Linked DNA regions of Homo sapiens: region 2 is linked to region 1. The links are contacts of gene promoters, found by promoter capture Hi-C in blood cells and fetal thymus (Javierre and others, 2016). All regions are on one chromosome and are shown on one strand. Each heading gives the region's core, a stretch centred on a gene start or on the middle of the fragment in contact. The rest is flanking DNA. Distances are from core to core; before and after follow the strand shown.

Region 1 (7,290 bases), core at 1,817-4,316:
AAGAAATATATCAGCTCCTCAGTAGGAACTAAGATCTTTGCCTTACATTAACATTTTAAACATTTTAATTGATAAATATAACATGTGTGTAGAAAATGAACAAAATGTACAGCTCAGTAGATTACCACAAAGCAAATACTTTTGTAATTAACAACTAGAACATGAAAATAAACAAAGCCAATAAATACATGAAATTCTCTCCTCCCTCTGTCCACTTCTAATCACTGTCCCTTCCCCCTCCCGAAGGTAACTATTATCCTGACCTTTATGGTAATCATTCCTAGATTTTTCTTTATCATTTTAACACTAAAGCTTACATCCCTATACAATATAGTAGAACTTTGCCTGATGGAATTTATATGGGATTTATTTAACATTATGGAGGAGGGTTGGGAGGTCTAGCTTTTTTTTGCTCAACTTTATGTTTGTCAGATTTATCCATGTTGTCGCACAGAGTTGTAGTTTTCATTTTCATTGCTATTTTGTTGTGTGAATATAGTTCAATATATTTATCATTCTACTGTTGGAAAGCATTTGGTCCACTTACAGTATGAAGTAATTTTGAATTGAATTTTACTGCTAAAAGCATTTTTCTTCTTCTTTGTTTTTTCTTTTTTTTTTCTGTTGCCCAGGCTGGAATGCAGTGGCACAATCATGACTCACAGCAAGTCAACTTCTGGGCTCAAGTGATTCTCCTTCCTAGTAGCTGGGACTACAGCCATGCGCCAAAATGCCCAGCTAATTTTTTGTATTTTTTGTAGAGATGGGTTTTCGCCATGTTGCCCAGGCTGGTCTCAAACTCCTGGGCTCAAGCAGTCCACCTGCCTCGGCTTCTCAAAGTGCTAGGATTACAGGCATAAGCCACTGCATCCCACCAAAGCATTTTTATAAACTGTATCTTGATGAACAAGTCCATGCATTTAAACAGAGAATATTCCTCAGAGTGGGATTGCTAGATCAAAAACTGGTTTCCAAAGTGGTTGTGCCAAATTATACTCTCACCAGCAGTACGTGACAGCTTCCATTGGTTTACTGCCTCAATACCTATATTGTCAGTCTTTTTAACTTTAGCCATTCTGATATGGTTTTCATTTGCATTTTCCTGATTAAAAATGAATCTGATTTTTCCATAAGTTTGTTGATAATATTTTCTCTTGTGAAGATCCTGCTCAAGGGTCTCATCCACTTTTGGTTTTGACAGTCAATCATTTCCTTAGTGATTTGTATCAGTTCTTCATATAACCTATATATAGGCCCTTAAATATGTCTTATAAATATTTTCTCCCAATTTGTGCCTTGCCCTTCCTTCTCTTTAATGTTGTTTTTGAATGGACAGAAGTTCTCAAATTATCAATTTTGTGTAGTCACATTTATAATTATGCCTGGTGACCTTTGTTTTATTTCAAATGCGTTCTGTCATGAAGACAATTTATACCTTCTAAAATGTTATTTTATCTTCTACAATTAAATTTATAATGAATATATATGCACCTGATTTGGGGATAAAGTTTGAGGTAAAGGTCATGTTTCTTTCTTTTTCTACATGAACATCAAATAGACCAAGCACTATTTAATTTCAAAAGTCCTTTTACCATTGCTCAGAAGGGTCACCTTTGTCTTAAATCGTGTTCATTTATATGGAAGTCTGTTTCTGTGCTATCCTGTTTCTTTCATCTTTGTCTATCCTGACACCATCATAACACTGTCTTAATTACCATATAAGTCTTGATACCTGGTAGATATCAACCCTCATTATTCTTCGAGAGATCTTCAAGAGTTTATTGATATTTTTGGTCCCTTGCATTTTCATATAAATTTTAGAAAAAACTTACCATGTTACACACACACAGTCACACACTGGGCCTTCATATGTATTTATGTTGAATCTATAGGTCAGTTTGGAAATAGCTGACATTGTAACAATATTGAGTCTCACAACCCATGAACATAGTGTAACCATTTATTTAGGTCTTCGTTTTCTTTCAAAAAAAAAATTTTTTTTTTTTTTGAGACGGAGTCTTGCTCTGTTGCCCAGGCTGGAGTGCAGTGGCGCAATCTCGGCTCACTGCAACCTCCACCTCCCAGGTTCAAGCAATTCTCTGCCTCAGCTCCCAAGTAGCTGGGATTACAGGCACCCGCCACCACGCCTGGCTAATTTTTGTATGTATGTATGTATGTATGTATTTACTTATTTTACACGAAGTCCCCCTCTGTCGCCCAGGCTGGAATGCAGATGCGCGATCTCTGCTCACTGCAAGTGCAGTGGCGCAATCTCGGCTCATTGCAACCTCCGCCTCCCAGGTTCAAGCAATTCTCCTGCCTTGGCCTCCCCAGTAGCCGGGACTACAGGCACGCACCACCATGCCCGGCTAATTTTTTGTATTTTTAGTAGAGACGGGGTTTCACCATGCTGGTCAGGCTGGTCTTGAACTCCTGACCTCGTGATCCGCCTGCCTCGGCCTCCCAAAGTGCTGAGATTACAGGCTTGAGCCATGGCGCCCGGCCTCAAAAATGTTTTATAGTTCTCTTTGTAGGAAGGACAATCTTTAACTTATTCCTAGTTACTTGCTATCTCATGCACTATTATAAATAGTATCTCTTTAAAACTTCAATTTTATATCTGTTGCTAATCTATTGAAACACATTGATCTTTGAATATTGACTTTGTATCCAGCAACTCTTAAATTAATTTAGTAATTTTTTCTACTTTCTTTTGGATTTTTCTATGCACATAGCATCTATGAAAAATTAACTGTATTTCCTCTTCTTGAGAAATTCGAAGACTCTCAATAATCTGAATTTGACTAACGTGCAATTTTCGTTGTAAATTCAATAAAAAGTTGCTAGTGTATTCAATCTTTCCAACTCACAAGCTCCCACTCTCAGTTTACGCGGACCTGACTACTACCCGAACAACCCCCACCAGTCTGGAGGATTTTGAGCCTAGACACTCCTCCAGAGCAGGCTCCTGTCCCGGCTGCGGAAGTGCGCGCGCCCTCGGCACCTTAACAGTTCCGCCCCTCTCCCGGACCCAGCCAATCAGCGGCCGCCTCTTGCGCGCGCCCCACCGACCAAAATGGCGGCTGCCGTTGGTGCGGGGTGCGGTTTGTAGTGCTGTTGCCCTACTCATCCCTTTGCAAAATGTGAAAGAAGAAGCGGCTGGTGGAGGCGGGCCATAGGCAATGAGTCGGCGAAGGAAACATGATGACAGCCCTAGCCCGAAGAAAACGCCGCACAAAACAGTGGCGGCGGAGGAATGCGGCTCGGTGGTCGAGCCAGGGAGGAGGCGGCTGAGATCGGCCCGCGGTTCGTGGCCCTGCGGGGCTAGAGAGGGGCCTCCCGGGCCAGTGCGGCAGCGAGAGCAGCCTCCGACCGCCGCCCTGTGCAGTAAAAGTAACCCCGAGGGTGAGACGTCGGCAGCGCGGCCTGCCTTGGCTTCGGCGCCGCATCCCCACATCCCAGCTTGCAACAGGGAAATCTGGGGTGGGGGTGGAGTCTGGAGCGTGTATTCTGTCTCTGGGATTCACCCCTCGAGAGTCCAAAAATAATCCTATACCACTCCCCGATGGGCTTTTGTCCCCGAACTTCAGCACTACCCCGTTAGGTTTGACCATCCATTTGCCTCCGCCACAGGAATAGGTAATGTGGTTTACCTGTTTGCGGGAGGGCGGCTGCTTTCCAGGCTGCTCCTCCAGTCAGCAGCAGTGGTGGAGTGAGAAGAAACAGCTGATAGGCCCGCTAACCTCAGTTTTTGCCCGGAGAAGTTATTTCTCTTTAAACCCTTTTTTTCCCTGTGACCTGCTTTAGAGAAGAGTTCATAGGAAAAGTTAAAGTTTGTCTCAAAGCCTGGTAGATGTCTCACCTCATTGTGAATAAACCGGAAGTTCCTGTGTGTAACATCCCTCCAAATAAGATACTAAGGATCTCTTTCGTCTCGATTAGTTTTAGGTGTTACTTTTTAAAAGACTTCTAGTAAATCTTAGTTGGAACTGAAACTCATACAAAAGCCTTTATTCTGGAGCATGTTCTTGAAATAGTGCTTTTTTTTTTTTTTTTTTTTTTATACCTTACGTGTCTTTTTTCTTTTGGGAAAGAATCTCGCCCTGTCGCCCAGGCTGCAGTGCAGTAGCACAATCTCGGCTCACTGCAACCTCCGCCTCCCGGGTTCAAGCGATTCTCCTGCCTCAGCCTCCCAAGTAGCTGGGACTACAGGCGTGTGCCACCTCGCCCGGCTAATTTTTTGTATTTTTGGTAGAGACAGGGGTTTCACCGTGTTAGCCAGGATGGTCTCGATTTCCTGACCTCGTGATCCACCCGCCTCGGCCTCCCAAAGTGCTGGGATTACAGCCACCGCGCCCGGCCACCTTACATGTCTTTAATAATACTCCTATAAAGCAATTTGGGAATGAACAAAAATCTTTATAAAAATTTGAAAGTGATTCTAGACAAAAATTCCCAAGCATTGGATCACTAATGGTTTTTGAAGAATGGCAATTAATGTAGATTAGATAGAGTTGGTGAAAGGGGGCTAAACATATTTAGGTTTCTGTTGGGTTACTTTGGATTTTTGAATGTACCTATAAATTACAGATGGTTCCCCAAAGCCTCCAAGACTCAATGGTAATAAATAGAATGACTTAGGTTATACAGTATTGTATTATGCATTCATAAAGCTTCTGGATTATCTAGAAGTGTTTGCTATTTACAATGTGAAGTTTGCGAAGTGCCGCGTGGATTTTTATGTGAAACAAGCATTTCTGTTACGGTTCAGGTAATTATCTCTGGGAAAAAAAATTATCTTGGACTATAAAAGTTAGTCTCAGCTATTTGACCTTGGGGTCTTACGAAGTAAGGTAATGCTTTAAAATGCAACAATTGTTATTTTACTCATATTTTATATAGAAAGGTATGAAACACCAAAGAGAGCGCTGAAAATGGACTCACTGTCATCTTCCTTCAGTTCTCCTAATGATCCAGATGGACAGAATGATATCTTTTGGGATCAGAATTCTCCATTGACAAAGCAGTTAGGTAATTAATTATTAACATTTTTTATGTGAGTAAATATTTGATAAATGATTCAGATTTAACTAGAATTCTAGTCAGATAATAGCATCGGGAACCTCTGAGAATGTTATATGATTTTATCTGTATAAGTATGTGATGTAAACACATAATCCTCTAAGCTGCACTAAATAAAATTACTTTCTAAGAAGTGACAGCTGTTTTTTAAAATGGAGGGTTTTTTGTTTAAAATTTATAGAAATGTCTTTGTTTCTTTAGGTAAAGGAAGAAAAAAACAGATTTACACCACAGATAGTGATGAGATTTCACATATTGTTAATCGTATTGCTCCTCAGGTAAATATCACTAGTTTTACAGTTTGTTTTAAAACAGTGAAGAATGTGCCACTAAGTTTTTGTAGTTTCTTTAAATGAAAAGTATTGTCTATTATAATTCTTTTTTCCAAAAATAAGGCAGCAAAGATTACTGTTTTGCCTTTTCTACTTTTGAAATACATATTTTGAAAAAAGGAATATAATATAAAATACAAGATATTTTCTTAAGTATATATCTTGTTTTAATTTTTTAGAGTAATTTTTGACTAGGGCATTGTGTTTATCTGTAATGTTGTGCTTAACAACATACGACATCATTTTTCAAGTTGCTAAAATAATAGAATAAGGCAGTGAAAAAAGTTTATACTTCTATGATTGTTTTGTGATTGGTACTTCCTGTCTGTAACATTTCCCCATTGAAACTATTAATACTCATTTCCTTATAAGATTATCAAGAAACACTTACAAAAGTGGAGAGCACTGAATTCAAATTTAGTCCTCATTCAACCTCCTATGCTGTGTGACCCAGTGCAAGTTATTTAAACTCCCACCACTTCAGTTCATTCAGCCATGAACTAGAATTATTGTGTTGCTCTTGCTGTCTTCATTGGATCATTATGAGAATTAAACTAGATAAAAATTCTTTGTAAACTATAGAGTGCTATAATTGTAAGGTTACGTTAAGGTTGTTACTGTAATAGAACCATCTCCAAAGCTTTTTTTTCTTTTCTTGGACAGGCATGGTGACTCATTCCTGTAATCTCAGCATTTTGGGAGGAAGGCTGAGGCAGGAAGATTGCTTGAGGCCAGGAGTTTAAGACCCTGTCTCTTAAAAAAAATTTTTTTTTGAGTGTTTCGTTTCTTTTTTTCATTTCTGTTCTTTTATTGTTTGAGTGAAATAGAAATATGTTCAAGTCAATCATTTGACACAAAGCAATCCAGTAACTCTAATATTATAATTACTAAGAAGCAAAGGCTCAATACGTGAAACTGTTCTGAACTTCTTTACTTTTTGTTCTCTTTTTCTTATTTAACATTTAAATCCAGAGAACATTTTTGCTTAGTGTCTTCTCTGAAGGAAGTATGCCATTTTTCCTTAACCTGCGCTTGAATAGTTACTATATGTTGACCATAAACAATAGATGGCACTGGCCCAAAACATGGTTTGAAGAATTACTGTCACCCAGGTGGAAGAGACAGAAAATGAAGTTTTTCTTAGCAGCTATAAAATATCCAAAATTACACCTAGCACAGTCAAAACAACTCTGTTGCTACTAGCTCTACATTCCATTTTTAGCATGTCATAGAAATTCATTTTACTTACAGTTAATTAGTTAAATAGCATTTATGCCATAATAGTACTTACTCTATAAGTTAACAATAGATCTTCATTAATTGTGGGTTTCACATGAAAGAAGCATAATAAAATGTGTTTGGGTGGGCCAGTCTAAATAGTGATAAAAAGATAGTTGTGAATAAATTATTGGACTCTTTACCTAAGTGGGCTAGAAATAATAGCTCATATAAAGAAATGACAACAGTACGCAAGTGGTAACTTGTATAAAAGAAAAAAATATAGTGAAATTAGTAGCTTTAAAATGTTACCCTCTTAAACTGAGTACTTTTAAAGCATATAAATCTTTAGCAGTTTCAAGGTCTGTTTGAAAGCTTGTCATGTTCTCAGAATGACAAATACTTATATTGTTTATTTTTAGGTGAGTCATTCTCAAATCATTTAGTTTTAACATTTTCAGAGATAGCATTTTTTTAAATATGCGCTTTTATTTTGGTTGGACAGTCAGTTCACTTTTTGCAGGGATACTTTTATACAATGTTGTTTATTTGAAGATGGTATGTATCTTCATTTATACAGCTTTGCACAGTATACTTTTTATAATGAAATGAAGTAATGCATTTAGATACCTTATACAGCACCTGGATTATGGTTGAA
Region 2 (7,290 bases), core at 1,893-4,392, 6.0 Mb after region 1:
AGCCAGATGTTCCCATAAATAAGTAGTACCCTAGGGGAGTACAGACTGCATTGGGAGGATAAGGGCTATTTAGCACATCAGGGACAAGCCAACTTTCTTTCCCTCAGGATAAGCAGATTTCTTGGATGAAGTTAAACAGGTTTCTCCAAAGCAGGCTGGAATGTTTTGGAAGAGAATGACCTGAGTAGTGTATAAAGAATAGCCCCAATATTAGTTTCTATTCCTGAAGGGCTAGGTTTTTCTCATAGGATTGTAATGACTTCAGGGAAACATTCTGTTGAAGTGTAGGTCAAGGTCCAATTTTTAGAAGACTGAGGTTTGGGATGAACTTTGTGGGGAATGCTTAAGTACCAGAAGTGACCTACAGAAGAAAATCTACTTGATGAAGTCTATGAAAGCACAGTTATTAAATTTTGTCAACAATTCCTTAAAAGCAGTAGCTACGGTTTGAGAAAAACACTCCAGAAAGTGTCTCTTTTCTTTTCTTTTTTTCCTTCCCTTTCCTTTCTCTTTCCCTTTCCCCTTTCCCCTCCTTTCCTTTCCTTTCTCTTTCTCTCTTCTCCCTTTCTCTCTTTCTTTTTTAGATTGGGTTTCACTTTGTTGCCCATTGGCACGATCACAGCTCACTGCAGTCTTGGACTCCTGAGCTTCAAGGACCCTCTTGCCTCAGCCTCCTGAGTAGCTGGGACTCCAGATACGTGCCACCATGCCCAGCTAATTTTTTATTGTTTTTAGAGATGGGGGTCTTGCTACATTGCCTACGTTAGTTAGACTCCTGGTCTCAAGTGATCTTCCCACCTTGGCTTTCTAAAGTGCTGGAATTACAGGTATGACCCACTGCACCTGGCCAAATAATGTTTACTTTAAGTAGTAGAACATAGGGAGTCAAAAGTAACAGGATGAAGATAAGGGTTATCTCCCCGAGAAATCAATTTGTTAGTTAATCAAGGGTGTCAAAATGCAATAAGCAAGATTAGTGGTAGGGTAAGAGATGCCAAGGAATCAGAAATTAATCTTGTCCTGTTGTCTTGGGTATAAACTGCCCATTTCTGCAGTAAGCAGCTTCTGGGGAAGTCCCAGGAATCTTCAGTTTGAGGTCTTCCAATAGTATGGGATGTCCGGTAGCCAGGAGAAAATGATGCATGTCTTTTTAGTTGTGTAATATGAATCCAGGGATCAATGTCTTCTAGTTTTACTCCTGGGTCAGTTGTTGATAGTACCTGACATTTTTTTTTCTTGCATTGAGGCTCAAGGGAAATTGTTTTCTAATGCTTTTTCAGAAGACCAAATCTCTAACTTCAGAAGCTGCTTAGGTGGGTGCTTTGAGAATGCAGCTTCCATCTGTTGTTGATAAAGCAGGAGTTAATCTTAGAAGTCTCCTGCAGCAATTAGTGATAACAGCTTATATTAGTAGCATCTAGTATTGGAAGTAATTCACAAATACATGAGGAAGCCTGTTATTAACTCAGAAGGAGATAACTTATGGGCCTTAGAATGGACTGACCTTATTGCCATCAAGGCAAATAGAAGTACTTTGGGCTTTGGAAGTTAGATGGAAGTTAGAGAACTTTGAAAGCTATTTTTTAGAATTCTATTAGTTCTCTTTATCTTTCCTGAAATTTGTGGATGCAAAAAGATAGCGGAGTTTCTAAAAAGGTAAAGCTTTACAGTTATTTAATATCAGTGAAATGTGTGTCCTCTTACTGGAGATAAACATTGAGATTTCACATTCAGGAATACAAAATTAATAAATTCTTTTCTACTATTACAGTAATAGGTCTCCGGCAAGGAGAACCCCTAAACCCCTTAAGAATAAATAACCCTAATGTACTCATAGTCCATTTAGAGGTGTTCAACAGAACTCCAAGACTGGGCTCCAGTTCATGTTCTACCCTTAAAGTTTTGCCAGGATTGGGTCATTGACAGGTAGGCAGGACATACATCCTTGGCAATAACCCTAAAATTGCCCCACCAACATTGGTTCAGCATCATTATCAATGTATCTCTACTATTGTGGGTAATACCATGAAGACTTTTTGCTGGACTCCACTTTAATTATGGCTATTTCCTTTGGTAACAGTGAAGCATCTCAAGATTATAATTATTATTTAAAATTTTAATTTAAAAATTTTCCCCATAGGTTATTGGGGGTACAGGTGGTGTCTGGTTACATGGCATCTTAAGATACTTTAATTTGCCATTCATTTCGTAGAGGTTCCTGAAGCGGTCAGGAAATCTTTGTTTTTAAAGCACTCCAAAGTCATTGACGAACCACCAAAACATATGTACTATCAGTATAAATATTTGCTCTGTTATCCTTTAACAGCTGGTTGGTCTAGGCCAGGGCAATTCCTACACTAACAGAGGACCTGGGATGGCATACTGAGTCAGCCACTTACTAGGTAAGAAACTTTGGGCAAATTAATTTTTTTAGCCTCAGATTCTTCATACATGAAATAGTAATACTTGTCTCACAGAACCGTGAGCATCTAATGAGTTATTGTACAATAACCAACCTATCACTAAGTCCTTCACATTGATTATTTCCTTTAATTATCACACCCATCCTATGCGATGGCCTATTATCATCGTTTTATAAACACAAAGTCACACCACTTTAAGTGGTGATGCCAGGATTCAAACTCCGATCTTTCTGATGCCAGTGCCCAGTTCTTAATCCCTCTAACAACCCGTGACACTTTTCCACGGTTAGGTTCAAGCGCCCACCATACAGCTTGACACTTTAGGAGATACTCAACCTTTAAAACTTTATAATTTGCATGTGTGATTATAACGGGTACGTCCTAGAGTTTGATCTCTTCTCTGTGCAGGGGCGAAACTCGACCCCAGCCGAGAACTACACTGTCCTTGCGCGGGGCCCTCTGCGCCCCGGAAGGCGCCCAGTCCCGGTTTATTGTGAGCTTACAGTACAGTTCGCAAGGTCCCGGCCGGTGACGGCGGCGAGGCGGCAACGTCGCCTGTAGCAAACCTCCGCCCTAAGGCGTTCCCGCCGGGCCTCGCGCGGCGTCCCTAGCAACGCGCGCGCGGTCTTCCGGCCCCGCCCAGGCGGGCGGCACTGCGCCTAAGCTGGGCCACAACCGCCAGTCAGGGCTCTCCCCTTCCCCTCCCTCCCCCCCTCCTCCTCCTCCTCTGCCGCCCAGAGCGAGACACCAACATGGAGCCCGAGGATCTGCCATGGCCGGGCGAGCTGGAGGAGGAGGAGGAGGAGGAGGAGGAGGAGGAGGAGGAAGAGGAGGAGGCTGCAGCGGCGGCGGCGGCGAACGTGGACGACGTAGTGGTCGTGGAGGAGGTGGAGGAAGAGGCGGGGCGGGAGTTGGACTCCGACTCTCACTACGGGCCCCAGCATCTGGAAAGTATAGACGACGAGGAGGACGAGGAGGCCAAGGCCTGGCTGCAGGCGCACCCCGGCAGGATTTTGCCTCCGCTGTCGCCCCCGCAGCACCGCTACTCGGAGGGCGAGCGGACCTCCCTGGAGAAGGTGAGGCGGGCCGGGGAGGGGTGTGGAGCCGCGGCGAGTTGGGGGTGGAGGCTGGGCCCCGAGCGCTCCGCCCGCCCGCAGGTCACGCCGCCTGACGGAGAAAACGCGCGCAGCTGAGGCTAGTAGGCGGCCCAGACTCCAGCCCAGGTGCCGGCCGGCTGCTCCGCGTCTCCCAGGCTTTGTGGCAAAGACTTCTCGTTTCCTCCCCCTCGGTGGGTCCTGGGCCTTTTGAACTCCCGTAGACGTTCAGGGGAGCCTGCATTCCCCGTGAGAAACGCTGAGAGAGGACCACGGGTGTGTCGAGCCTTGAAGGAGGGAAAAGGCGGTGTAGGACCGGAGCGAGTGGTTGCCTGGGGAGCATCTTGTTGGGGAGACAGTGAACAGATGAGCTTGACTGAATTGCAGGACTCCCCTGAGGGAGTAATGTGGATAATGTACACCGCGCGATCACTTAGTCTGGAGAGGCTCCCCGCGGGTTTTCCTCCCCTGGACCATCATTTGTAGCAATAAAGGGGTTCCCCAGCCGATAGGAGGGGCTTGGAATGCAGGAGGCTTGTGATGCGGCTCCAAACAGTCTGCAAAACTACAAAGCACAGATAATACACAATGGAGAAAGCCGATTTCATGGTAGACCCCCGAAGATCATTTTGAAAATAACTCTCCATTTAATTTGCTGCCCTTACCCCCCTTTTTTTAACTTACTGCTTTTCGAGGAGCAAGACCTGCCCTGCTCAGTACAGTAGCCACTGGCCACGTGTGGCTTTTTACATCTTAAAGAGAAAACTATTATAGTTTTGAGTAAGAGTTAAAAATAAATTAAATGAAAAATTCCATGCGTCTGTTCTTACCGGTTTTCAAGTGCTCAGCAGCCACACTAGGCTAGTGGCTACCATGTTGGACAGAGCAGATAATGGAACAGTTCCATCATCACAGACAGTGAAGGTGTAGAGTTTTGTCACTAATGAGCAGTAGTTGTTGTTTTGTCTGGTGAATATTCCAGGGGGTACTTAATTCATTGAACATGTATTATTAGAATTCACCATGTGCCACACATTGTGCTGGGTGCTAAGGAAAGCTTGGTGAACCCAAACATTTTTGGTCTCTGCCTTCCTTGTGTTCATGGTCTAGACAGGGAGGCAGACAGATTTCAGATGATCACATAAAGTGAAACTAATATATGTGCTAATATTCTATGAAAGCATAAAGTAAGATAATCTGGCCTTGTCAGTGAAGTTGGGAAAGCCTTCTTGAGGAGGTTATGATAGAGCTGATATCTGAAGACAGTTTAAGGTTAATCAGGCAAAGGGGAGGGAAAGAGCCGTCTAGCTGAGGGAAAAACACATGAAAAGGTACTGTTGATGAGAGAGAGCATGGCATTTTCCAGGACCCAGAAGCCAACGTGGTTTGAGCACAGACTGCAAGGCTTTGTGTGCTATGCCAAGGATTTAGGGGCTTTATCTCTGGAGCTTTGGGGAGTTGAAGAAAATATTTGAAACGAGGGGATGTATGATAAGTTAGGTGTTTCAGAAAGGTCAGGTGTATAGCAGAGTGTGGAACAGCTGTGATAGCAAGGTGGGATGGGGAGCAGTAGCCATAGGTCAAGGGCATAAATTAGGAGACCATTGCAGCATTGCCCGGCAAAAGATGATGAAAGTTTGGAATAGGGAAGTGTTGGTGGATACAGGGAAAAGTGGACTGATTTGAGAGATATTTAAGAGGCAAAATCATCATACTTAATAACGGATGGGATGTGAAAGGTGAAGTAGCCAGGTGTTAGGTTATTGTTTGAATGGTTGTGCCAATATTAAGATATGGCCAGATTTATGGTGGAGGTGGTGGCTGTGAGTGGGTGGTGGAATTGGTTGGGTGAGTCTTAAGATTATGAGTTTGGTTTTGAAGATTGAAGGAGAAGGCTGGGCTAGAGATTTCAAGTTGTAAGTCATTTACATAGAGACCATAATTAAAGCCACACTTGTTGACTAGGTCTTCTAACTTTTATTTTGTCCTGTGACTTCTTGCTTGAATAACTATTAATATTCAAACTTTATCTTGAAGCCTAGAGGAGGAGTTTTTTAAACAAAATTTTAATTTAATTTTAGATTTGGGGGTACATATGCACGTAATTAACATGGATATATTGCATAATGGTGAGGTTTGGGCTTCTAGTGAACCTCTCACCCAAATAATATACCTTTGTACGTGATAGTGTAACATTGTACTTGATAGGTAATTTTTCAGCCCTTCTCTCCTCCTTCTGGAGCCCCCAGTGTCTGTTTATTTCCATCTTTATGTCTGTGGGTACTTATTGTACCCATTTATCTTTATGCCTCTGTGTACCCATTGTACCCACTTGTCTTACCAGTGAGAGCATGTGGTATTTGATTTTCTGTTTCTGAATTGTTTCACTTGATAAATAGCCTCCAGGCTCCATCCATGTTGCTGCAAAGGACAGGATTTCATTCTGTTTATAGCTGCATAATATTCCACAATGTATATTAATACATACTACATTTTCTTTACCCATTCAGTTGTTGATGGACACTTAGGTTGATTTCATGACTTTGCTATTGTGAACGGTGCTGTGATAAACATATGAGCACAGATTTTTTTCTTTTTTTTTAATGGCGTCTAGCTGGTGTAGAACACCTGGGCTCAAGTGATACTCCGCCTTGGCTTCCCAAAGTGCTGGGATTACAGGTGTGAGCCAGTGTGCCTGGCTCAGATGTCTTTTTGATGAAATGATTTAATTTCCTTTGGAGAGATACCCAGTAGTAGGATTGCTGGGTCAAATGGTAGTTCTGTTTTGAGTTCTTCAAGAAATCTCCATACTGCTTTCCATAGGAGTTGAACAATTTACATTCCCAACAACAGTGTATACGTGTTCCCTTTTCTTCTCATCCTTGCCAACATCTGTTTTTTGACTTTTTAATAATAGCCATTCTGACTGGTGTGAGATGGTATCTCATTGTGATTTTAATTTGCATTTCTCTGATGCTTAGTGATGTTGAGCATTTTTTCATGTTTTTTGGCCGCTCGTATGTCTTCTTTTGAGAAGTGTCTGTTCAGTCTTTTGCCCGCTTTTTAGTGGGGTTATTTGTTTTTTCTTCCTGTTGATTTGTTTGAGTTCCTTATAGATGCTGGATATTAGTCCTTTGTCAGATGCATAGTTTGCAGATATTTTCTCCCATCCTGTAGGTTGTCTGTTTACTCTGTTGGTAGTTTATTTTGCTGTGCAGGAGCTCTTCTAGTTTAATTAAGTTCCATTTGTCTGTTTTTATTTTTGTTGCATTTGCTTTTGAGGTCTTAATCATAAACTTTTTTCCTAAGTATTCTTTAGGATTATTATAATTTCGGGCCTTACATTTAAATCTTTAATCTATCTTGAGTTAATCTTTGCATATGGTGAGAGATAGGGACCCAGAGGAGGAATTTTTAAGCTAACCCTCTTTTACTACAGCCAATGTGAGAAAATTATTTTCCTGTTTAATAATGAACTATCTTTTTTTTCCCCCGCCGAGATGAAGTCTTGCTCTGTTGCCCAGGCTGGAGTGCAGTGTCACGATCTTGGTTCACTGCAACCTCTGCCTCCTGGGTTCAAGCAATTCTCCTGCCTCAGCCTCCCGAGTAGCTGGGATTACAGGTATCCACCACCACGCCTGGCTAATTTTTGTAGTTTTAGTAGAGATGGGGTTTCACCATGTTGGCCAGGCTGGTCTTGAACTCCTGACCTGTGATCTGCCTGCCTCAGCCTCCCAAAGTGTTGGGATTAGAGGCATGAGCCACCGCGCCCG

The links. The method cuts DNA at HindIII sites, captures the fragments that hold promoters and counts their contacts. A CHiCAGO score of 5 or more calls a contact.
Region 2: the fragment with the promoter of ALMS1 here is called in contact with the fragment with the promoter of ETAA1 in region 1 in 2 of 17 cell types (non-activated CD4 T cells and activated CD4 T cells); the score reaches 6.8 in non-activated CD4 T cells.

The regions. Positions count from the first base shown.
Region 1 is chr2:67,394,267-67,401,556 of GRCh38, forward strand. It overlaps ETAA1 (ETAA1 activator of ATR kinase), which reads left to right and starts at 3,067. Exons shown (of 6, transcript NM_019002.4): 1 at 3,067-3,405; 2 at 4,903-5,031; 3 at 5,284-5,360. The coding sequence starts at 3,183. The HindIII fragment of the contact is 4,361 bases long and covers 311-4,671 here.
Region 2 is chr2:73,382,694-73,389,983 of GRCh38, forward strand. It overlaps ALMS1 (ALMS1 centrosome and basal body associated protein), which reads left to right and starts at 3,143. Exons shown (of 23, transcript NM_001378454.1): 1 at 3,143-3,499. The coding sequence starts at 3,176. LOC105374804 (a long non-coding RNA gene) reads right to left here and starts at 2,988. Exons shown (of 4, transcript XR_007087053.1): 1 at 2,760-2,988. RefSeq lists enhancers at 2,902-3,651, 3,692-3,931 and silencers at 2,902-3,301, 3,462-3,631. The HindIII fragment of the contact is 2,912 bases long and covers 1,661-4,572 here.